2 separate regions of the Homo sapiens genome follow, and region 2 is linked to region 1. The links are contacts of gene promoters, found by promoter capture Hi-C in blood cells and fetal thymus (Javierre and others, 2016). All regions are on one chromosome and are shown on one strand. Each heading gives the region's core, a stretch centred on a gene start or on the middle of the fragment in contact. The rest is flanking DNA. Distances are from core to core; before and after follow the strand shown.

Region 1 (4,570 bases), core at 840-3,339:
AACTCCTATTCAACCTCTGAAACCCAGCTCAAATGCCACCTCCTCTGGTAAGCCTTCCTAATTGCTCTTTGTACTTTTGTAGCAGTGTATTAAGGTGGAACAAGCTCAGTTGTCGTTGTTGTTTTTTGAGACGGGGTCTTGCTCCATTTCCCAGGCTGGAGTACAGTGGCAAAATCATAGGTCACTGCAGCCTCAACCTCCTGGGCTCAAGTGATCCTCCCACCTCAGCCTCCTGAGCAGCTGGGGCTACAGGCACGAACCACCACGGCCGGCTACTTTATTTTTTATGTTTGGCAGAGATGGGGGTCTCATTGTGTTGCCCAGGCTGGGTCACTCATTGTCTGACTTAATTTCTGAGTGTCTATTTCCTGAGATGGGGACAATGGCTTAACCTATTTGTAAAGACAAGGTACAGGACATATCGGGGATCACATGGGAATCACAAAGCCATCATGAGGTGACACCTGCCATTTGTCTTATACTAGAATTAGTTGAGTGGGAATGGGACTCTGCCTTAATCCATGAACTCCCTGAGGGCAGGGACAGTGTCCCCACAGGGCCTAACCCAGTGTTCAGCGCAGAGCGGCATCGTATGCTCTGTGGACACTGTACAAATGAGAAGAAACGGGACTGTATCATTTACCTGTAATGTGACTTTGGGGAGGCGACATCATCTCTTTTTTTTCTTTTTTTTCTTTGTTTGAGACGGAGCACGGAGTCTCTGTCGCCCAGGCTGGAGTGGAGTGGTGCTATCTCGGCTCACTACAACCTCCGCCTCCCAGGTTCAAGCGATTCTCCTGCCTCAGCCACCTGAGTAGCTGGAATTACAGGCGCCCACCACCACGCCCGGCTAATTTTTGTTGGTCAGGTTGGTCTCAAACTTCTGACCTCAAATGATTCACCCACCTTGGACTCCCAAAGTGCTGGGATTACAGGCATGGGCTACCGTGCCCGGCCTCTGTGATGCTTCTGCATGTCTAAAATAACAAGTGGGTATTGACCTACTATGTGTATTCATTATAACATTGCTAGCCATATCACTATCCCTCAGCATTTTAATTTTACTTTTATAGAGATGGGGTCTTGCTGTGTTGCCCAGGCTGGTCTCAAAACTGAGCTCAAGCAATCTCCCACCTCTGCCTCCTGAGTAGCTAGGACTACAGACGCATGCCACCATGTCCGGATACTTTTTAAAAGCATTTAAATACTTTTAAAAATTGTTCTTTTCACTCTTTTTTTTTTTTTTTTTGAGACGGAGTCTCGCTCTGTCACCCAGCCTGGAGTGCAGTGGCGCGATCTCCGCTCACTGCAAGCTCCGCCTCCCGGGTTCACGCCATTCTCCTGCCTCAGCCTCGCGAGTAGCTGGGACTACAGGCGCCCGCCACCACGCCCGGCTAATTTTTTTTGTATTTTTAGTAGAGACGGGGTTTCACCATGTTAGCCAGGATGGTCTCGATCTCCTGACCTCGTGATCCGCCCGCCTCGGCCTCCCAAAGTGCTGGGATTACAGGCGTGAGCCACCGCGCCCGGCCTCTTTTCACCCTTTTGACAATTTTTAAATTTTTTTAAATAGAGACGGGGGTCTTGTTATGTTGCCCAGGCTGGTCTCAAACTCCTGGCCTCAAGCGATCCTCCCTTCTCGGTCTCCCAAATCGCTGGAATTACAGGAGAGAGCCACCGCGCCCGGCCAGCAAGTCAGCGCTCACCATCTCCAACCCCATTTTACAGAAGAGAAAACTGAGGCTTGGGGAGGGCTGCAAGGCAGGAGCCCTCGGCGCCCGGCCAAAGTCAGAAATTTGTTGTTGCCATCCGAGGGGAAAACGTGCACGGGCTCTGCAAATTGTAACCGCCCGGGGTGGGAGAGTCCGTGCCTGGGGGCGTGGTGAGCCAGGGCCGGTGCTGGGGCGCAGAGCAGGGCGGCTCAGATTCCGGGAGGGGCGGGGAGATCGGGTTGCTGGGCGATCCTGGGGTGCTGGAGGCGGCGCGGCGCGGCCGGGGCGGGGAGGGGTGCGGCCCGCCTCCTCCCTGCCCCACCCCCAGCCCCGGCGCCGCGGCTCCTTTAAGAGCGGGAGGGGCGCCCCCTGGCGGCGGAGCGGTGCGTGCGGCCGGAGCCGGAGCGGATCCTGGAGCCGGAGCGGAGCGGAGCGGAGCGGAGCCGGGGCGGAGCGGGCCGAGCGGGCCGAGCCAGCAGCCGAGCTGGGGGCGCGGGCGGGCGGCATGTACCGGGCCCGGGCGGCGCGGGCGGGGCCGGAGCCCGGCAGCCCGGGGCGCTTTGGGATCCTCAGCACCGGGCAGCTCCGGGACCTGCTTCAGGATGAGCCCAAGCTGGACCGGATCGTGCGGCTCAGCAGGAAGGTAGCGCGGGGGGCTCGAGCGGGGGGCGCGGGGGACGGGCAGCGGCCTGCGGGACCTGCCGCTCGAGGGAAGGGCCGCGCGGGCCGGGCCGCGGGGCCGCCCGTGGGCGCGGAGCCTGGCACGTACGAGTGGGCCCCGCGGAGCCACCCCCGGGGGAGGGGGCGCTTGGAGCTGGCCTGGGGCGGGTGGGGCGCCGGGGACCCGAGGGGGGCGCCTGTGCACCCCCAGGATGGCCGCGAGGCGTGTCCTACAGCGGATGCTCCGGGGAGGTGTGTTCCGGGGGGCTGTGTTGTGGGGGGCCCTGGCTCGCACACCCACGTTCTGTAAGGGCCAGAAAGAGGAGGCGCCTTCCACTGGGAGAACTAGGGGCCTGTCTGACACCTGGAGGGGCCGTTGGGGGTTCACGCATTCTGGGGGCGCAAGAGGGGGCTTTGTGCCTGGCGTTGGGGAGGGGTGCTGGAAGCTGCCGTGTGTATTGCATAGGCCACCGTAAGAGAAAGTTGTATATTTCACGGGAGATAGGCCCGGGCTGGTTGTCTGTGGGGGGCAGAAAGGGCAAGTGTGTGTTGAAAGCAGGCAGGCGAGGAGGGGCTTGTGCATCCCACAAGGGACAGATGGAGGGGAGTGCGTTCTCCAGGGGCAGGGAGGGGAGGTTGGGCCCTGCTAGAGACAAGGAAAAAGCCTTCTCCAGGGCCGGGGCTGCTGTAAGCCCGGAGCAGGGAGGAAAAGGGGGTGTGTATTCCTTGGGGTGTGAGGATTCCACTGGAGGCAGAGGAAGGGGTGGGAAGGGAAGAGAGGGTGACCCGAGGGGGTGCTGTGAGGGGACGGGGTGCAGACACCCCTCTGGAGAGGATGAGCAGGGGGTGGGAGTGTTTTCGGTGCAAACACCTGAGGAGGAAACAGACAAAGGCCTGGAGTGAGAGGGAAGCTGTCCATGCATGGAAAATGGGGCAGAGGAGGGAGGGGCACTCCTCCGGGACCTGAGCAGACATATTAATTGAAAAATTAAAAATTAACTAACATTTGTAGAGGCCTTTATAGTTTTCCTCACTTAAGTCTCTCAACAACCCCATAAGGTGGATGTTTTTTAACTCGATTTGTAAAAGAGGAAACTGAGGCCAGAGAGGGAGCTCAGGGCAGAGCCAGTTCTGGTCCCGGCCTGTCATCGTCCCTTCACCTGTTGGGTTCACCACCCTGAAGGGGTGCCTGACAGGTGCCTTTGGCCTGGCCCTCAGGCACGGTCGCCCAGTAGGGTGGACGGGGCAGTAGGGTGGACAGGGCAGATCCCCTGAGCGGGCCTCTTAGCTCCTCTCTGCCCGCAGTTCCAGGGCCTGCAGCTGGAGCGTGAGGCCTGCCTGGCCTCCAACTACGCGCTGGCCAAGGAGAACCTGGCCCTGCGGCCCCGCCTGGAGATGGGCCGGGCTGCCCTGGCCATCAAATACCAGGAGCTTCGTGAGGTGGCCGAGAACTGCGCGGACAAGCTGCAGCGACTGGGTGAGGGCACGTCTGGGAGAACCCCCTGGGGCTGGTGGGGGCAGTTGGCCATCCGGTGGGTTGGCCTTGGGAAGTGCCAGGCTCTGATGGATGGGAGTTGGGCGGACCTGCTCCTGGCTTGCTGGGCAGTAGAGTTGAGGAAGTGAGAGGAAGTGGGGAGGGTTGGGTGGGAGAAAGGGGACCCAATACGCAGGGTCCCCCTGAGATGCTGAGGGGGACAAAGCCTCCCCTGTCTCTTTTGTACTAGGACGAGGAGCAGAAACTTGGTAGGGGCCGGATCCACAAAGCGGTCACATGGGCACGGTACAGATGAGGAAACTGAGGCTCTAGACCAGGGGAAAGGGAAATATAGAATCACATGGGGTCAGCGGGAGAGTGCAAGCCCGGGGCCCTGGCCTGTCTGTCACTCTGTCCCTCTGTGGCCCTCAGAGGAAAGCATGCATCGCTGGAGTCCCCACTGCGCGCTGGGCTGGCTGCAGGCTGAGCTAGAAGAGGCGGAGCAGGAGGCAGAGGTGAGGGGAGGGGTGGCTGGGGCTGGGGGCCAGGAGGGAGACCCATTCTCTGCCACCCCCTGGCTCATTCTTACACCTCAGGCTGGGGAGCCCCTCCTCTGGGAAGTCCACCCTGAATGCCTGGCGCATGCCAGAGCCTAGCATTGCTGTCCACCAGCACTGGACAGCCAGCAGGGCTCACTTTCCTACCTGTGAATTTTTTTCGGGCT
Region 2 (4,753 bases), core at 1,568-4,067, 52 kb after region 1:
TGGGGCTCCTGGGGATGCTCTAACCTAAAAGTCTTTCCCTGGCTGTGTGACCCTGGCCCTGTCTTCGGTCTCTCTTTGTTACCTGTAACCTGCAAGTGGCCTTTCTGATCTCTGAGGGACTGCGACAGCATTGAGGCCCCCTGGCTAGTCCCCAGTGACCCCCTTCACTCCCCATCTGCAGAGGGAGAGTTGGGAGCTGGAGAAGGCTGGAGAAGGCTGGAGGGCTGGGCCGGGCCTGCAGAGTGAGGAAACGCGCCAGCTCCTTCCCCAAGTGTGACTTTTATAAATAAGCTCTCTTCGCCTCCTTCCAAATGTGGTGGTGTTGGGTGGGGGAGAAGGAGAAAGAAGAGGGAGGAGGAGGAGGAAGAGGGAGGGAGGGAGGGCTGGGAGCGGTGCACAGCCGCTGTCCCCAGCACCATCTCTGTTCAGCCCAGCCCAGCCCAGCCCGCCCCAGTCCAGCCCAGTCCAGCCCAGTCCAGCTCAGCCAGTGCTGGCCTCTTCCTTTCTGGGGATTCTGGGCTGAAAATTCTGACTCCTGGGGCTTCAGGCCTCCTACAAATGTGGAGCTGGAGTCAGGAGACCTGTAGCCCTGCTTCTCGTCCCGAGAAACTGAATTCTAGGCTTTCCCATCCCCACTTCACAGATGGGAACCCTAGGTCCAGAGGGAAAGCAGCCTGTGGGAACAGTGGCCCCACCAAGACTGACTGTCTCACCCCACCCCGGGTGGGCTCCTGCCTGCCAGCCGTCCACCTGTCTGCTAGAAAGCCCTCCCTGGGCAGGGCCACCCAGCAATGGGTACAGCCTCCCTGGGCTCTGAATGCCTTGTGTGGGGAGGGTGGGGGTGTCTGGAGCGGAAGCCTCAGACCATTCAAAGCAAAGCCTGGCTTCACCATCTAATCAGGGGGCGAGGAGGTAGTAACAGAGACAGACATCAGAGCAAAAAGATCTGGGTTCAAACGCTTCACAACCCCAGCTCCACTGGCTGTCCCCCAGTGTCAGCCAGGCCTGAGTCTGACTATCTTCAGGGATGAGGCAAAGCCCTTTTCTACCACCCCTCCCTCTAGCAGGCAAGCCGTGTTTCTTTTGTGCCTCAGTTTCCCCTTCAGCTAGGGGGATGAAGGCTGACATGCCAGAGGCTATTATCCTATGTAGGGGCCCATGGTTCCCCTGACCACTTGGTTCCCACACACACCCTCAGGTAACCTACCAGGCGCCTAAACATCAGCACATTACACCACACAGCCATCCGTCACCAGGAAAACACTCATTCTGACTCAACGGAGCTCAGGAAACTTGAGGGCAACCACAGGGGCCGCGGGGGAAGTGTTTAGAGCCCATATGCGACTTGAGGGACCATCTTCTTCCTTTGAAACCTCATGGGGTTTACACCAGGGGCTGGGCGCTCGGCCAGGAATAACAGGTCTGGAGGCAAAGTGGAGGCCGTGGTGCCAGAGCAAGTGGGGGACATGAAGGCAGGGGAGCCCAGGTCCCGGCTCCAGGATGCCCAGGAGGCAACCATGACATAATGGGGCAGACAGGCTCCAACTCAGGGAGCCTCTGGGTGGAGAAGACAAGCCGTGGGGTCAAATGCCCAAAGGACACTTGACATTTTCCATAGGAGGGGACCTTAGGGTTCTAGTTCCTAGCCCAGGGAGCGGGGTGGGGGGTGCTCCCAGGGATCAGCAGGCAGGGCTGCCAGCCAGGTGGCCAGCCAGGGGACCAGATGACCAGATGAGACTCAATCTAGTCTTGAGCCTTGATCCACCCCCCCTCCCCGACACACCCAGAGAGGCTTCATTTCCGTCGCTGTCCTCCACTCCCGGTCACCATCCTCCTGGGCTCCTCATCCCTAAGGGCAGAGGCCAGGGGAAGGGGACCCACGCAGGCTGCAGGGGTCTCTGGGCTGGGAGAAGGTGGGCTCTGACTCAGAACGTTTGTGCATCCTCCTACTCCCCCCAAACCCCGCCCCAGGAGCCACACCCCAGGGGTTTCCCAGATACAGGTAGAAAAATAGATCCAAGTCGCAAGGAACCCTGAAGGGTCTGGAAACGCCAGCCAGTGCTGCCCGAAAGCCCGAAGGTGGATAGGTGGACCGGGGGCGGGTGTGACGCCCCCCCCCCCATACCTGGGGCGGGCAGTGGATCCCTACTGCGACCAAGCAGAGGGGGAGCCACAGGTGATGGGAGCCACAGGTGACCAGGGTGGCCCGAGGAGGCCGCCACCACCCGACGATCAGGTTTCCGCAGCGCGCCCCGCAGCGGGGCCCCGCGCAGGGGACCGGCACCGGCCCACCGCGGTCCCCTCGTCTGTCTACACCAAGGAGGTTCCCACCGCGGTCCCCTCGTCTGTCTACACCGAGGGGGCACGGGAGGTCAGAGATGAGGGGCAGTGAGGGGGCCAGAGAAAGGGCCTGCTCTGCGGGAGGGGGAAGAGGTCCCGCCACCAAAACCCCATCATACCCTCCGAACCCCCCAAATCAAGAGGGCCCCGAAAAGTTTATCCAGGACCCCGGACTCCAGCCGACCGTCCACGTGTCAGCGCGGCCGAGCTCACGCGAGCCTGACCCCGAGTGGGTCCGAGGGGCGGAACCCGGAGGGGGGTCGAGGTCCCTGGCTCGCCCCGCTCCCTTCAGCCCTGGCTGGGGGCGCAGGAGCGGCCACCATCCTGGCCGCGGGAGCCGGGCGGGAAGTGTCCGGCGCGTTGGCGCTGGCGGCGGGCGGCGGGCGGCCGCGCGCTGGGGCCGGACTCACCGTGCGGAGCTCCTGGGTTCGGTCCTTCATGCTCCCGGGAGTGGCAGCGGCGCCGGCTGCAGCCGTGTGAGCCCCGCATGCGCGACGGCCGCCCCGCGGCTGCGCAGCGCCAGCCCGGCCCCGCCCCGGCCCCCGGGACCCCGGCCCCGCCCCACCCCGCCCGGGCCCCGCCCAGACCCCGCCCAGACCCCGCCCCACCCCGCACGAGCAGCCCCGTGGGGATCGAAGCCCTGGGGTCTCGTCCTGGACGTTCCGCACGCGTGATCGCTCCCGGGGATGGGTCCCCAGAGACCCTGCTGCCTCCTCTGCCCCAGCCCTGTCTCGTTTTTTATTTATTATTTTTGGAGACAGGGTCTCGCTCTGTCGCCCAGGCTGGAGTGCTGTGGTGCAATCATAGCTCACTGCAGCCTTGAGCTCCTGAGCTCAGGCAATCCTCCCGCCTCAGTCTCCTGGGTGGCTGGGACTAGAGTTGCTCGCCACTACTCCTGAATAATTTTCAAATATTTTGTAGAGACAGGGTCTTGCTATGTTACTCAGGCTGGTCTTGAACTCCTGTCCTCAAGCGATCCTCCCTCCTCCCAAAGCTCTGCGATTACAGGCGTGAGCCACCGTGCCTGGCTTCCAGCCTCTTCCCGACTTAGCAGCTCAGCATCCCTGTCCCAGAATCCGGTCCTCATCCTCAGATCCCTTCACTTCCCCAGAATTTGCTGAAGGTTGTAACTCCCTCCTTCATTTCATTACCTTGGGACCTCCTGCTCTCCCTTCTGTTCCCCAGCCAAAAACCTCCTGGAGAGTTCCAGTCTGGGAGCCTCCACCCTTCCCCCTTGCTCCCATCATCCAGTAGGGACTCAGGCACTGGCCTCTTCTTTCCCTAGGATTTCTCAGTTCACAGCTCTGATGCTGCGTGACCCACCCCTTTTTCCTGCAGGATGAAGGAACTCCTCTATCTTTTTATGTTTGTTTGTTTGTTTGATTATTTATTTATGAGATGGAGTTTCACTCTTGTCGCCCAGGCTGGAGTGCAGTGGCGCTATCTCAGCTCTGCCTCCTGGGTTCAAGCGAGTCTCCTGCCTCATCCTCCCAAGTAGCTGGGATTACAGGTGCCCACCACCACGCCCGGCTAATTTTTTGTATTTTTTAGTAGAGACAGGGTTTCACCATGTTGAGCAGGCTGGTCTCAAACTCTTGACCTCTTGATTCTCCCGCCTCGGCCTCCCAAAGTGCTGGGCTTATAGGCGTGAGCCACCGTGCCCGGCCTATTTTTTTTTTTTTTTTTTGAGACGGAGTCTCACTCTGTTGCCCAGTCTGGAGTGCAGTAGCACGATCTTGGCTCACTGCAACCTCCACCTCCCGAGTTCAAGCAATTCTCCTGCCTCAGCCTCCCAAGTAGCTTGAGATTACAGGCACCCACAACCACGCCTGGCTAATTTTTTTGTATTTTTAGTAGAGAAGGGGTTTCACCATGTTGTCCAGGCTGGTTTCGAACTCCTGACCTCAAGTGATCTGCCTGCCTCAGCCTCCCAAAGTGCTGGGATTACAGGTGTGAGCCACTGCACCCAGCCAGGAACTACTCTATCTTTGGGAAAGAGATTTGAGTTATGGCCCCCCTCTCCTCCTTTCCCTGCATCCCCAATCCTGAACTCTGGCTCTAGGCCTGAGGTTCTATTTTCTCTTTTTTCGTTTTTGTAAAGACGGGGTCTCCTCATGTTGCCCAGGCTGGTCTCAAAGTCCTAGCCTCAAGCGATCCTCCTGGCTTGGGCTTCCAAAGCACTGGGATTACACTTGGCCAATGTAGGTTCTATTTTCTATCTAGAAGCCTGGGGCCTGGCTTCCTCTAGGACTCATGGGAAAACCTGTGGAGGAGTGGGAGTGGGGAGGCCAGTCAACAGCAGATGTTCTTTTGAAGGTCCCTGCCAGCATCTTGTTGCAACAGTGGTCTCGCACACACCCCCATAAGCCCGCTGTGCCCTCCACCACCCCCAGCTGTCACTTCTGTGGCCCAC

Evidence for each region. The method cuts DNA at HindIII sites, captures the fragments that hold promoters and counts their contacts. A CHiCAGO score of 5 or more calls a contact.
Region 2: the fragment with the promoter of STX1A here is called in contact with the fragment with the promoter of VPS37D in region 1 in 17 of 17 cell types (erythroblasts, naive CD8 T cells, endothelial precursors and 14 more); the score reaches 15.1 in erythroblasts.

The regions. Positions count from the first base shown.
Region 1 is chr7:73,665,742-73,670,311 of GRCh38, forward strand. VPS37D (VPS37D subunit of ESCRT-I) reads left to right here and starts at 2,090. Exons shown (of 4, transcript NM_001077621.2): 1 at 2,090-2,355; 2 at 3,678-3,849; 3 at 4,279-4,361. The coding sequence starts at 2,218. RefSeq lists silencers at 1,701-1,750, 1,761-1,860, 1,971-2,270 and an enhancer at 2,252-3,247. The HindIII fragment of the contact is 11,431 bases long and covers 1-4,570 here.
Region 2 is chr7:73,716,852-73,721,604 of GRCh38, forward strand. STX1A (syntaxin 1A) reads right to left here and starts at 2,818. Exons shown (of 10, transcript NM_004603.4): 1 at 2,751-2,818. The coding sequence starts at 2,780. RefSeq lists silencers at 2,214-2,293, 2,404-2,463, 2,474-2,673, 2,734-2,933. The HindIII fragment of the contact is 14,118 bases long and covers 1-4,753 here.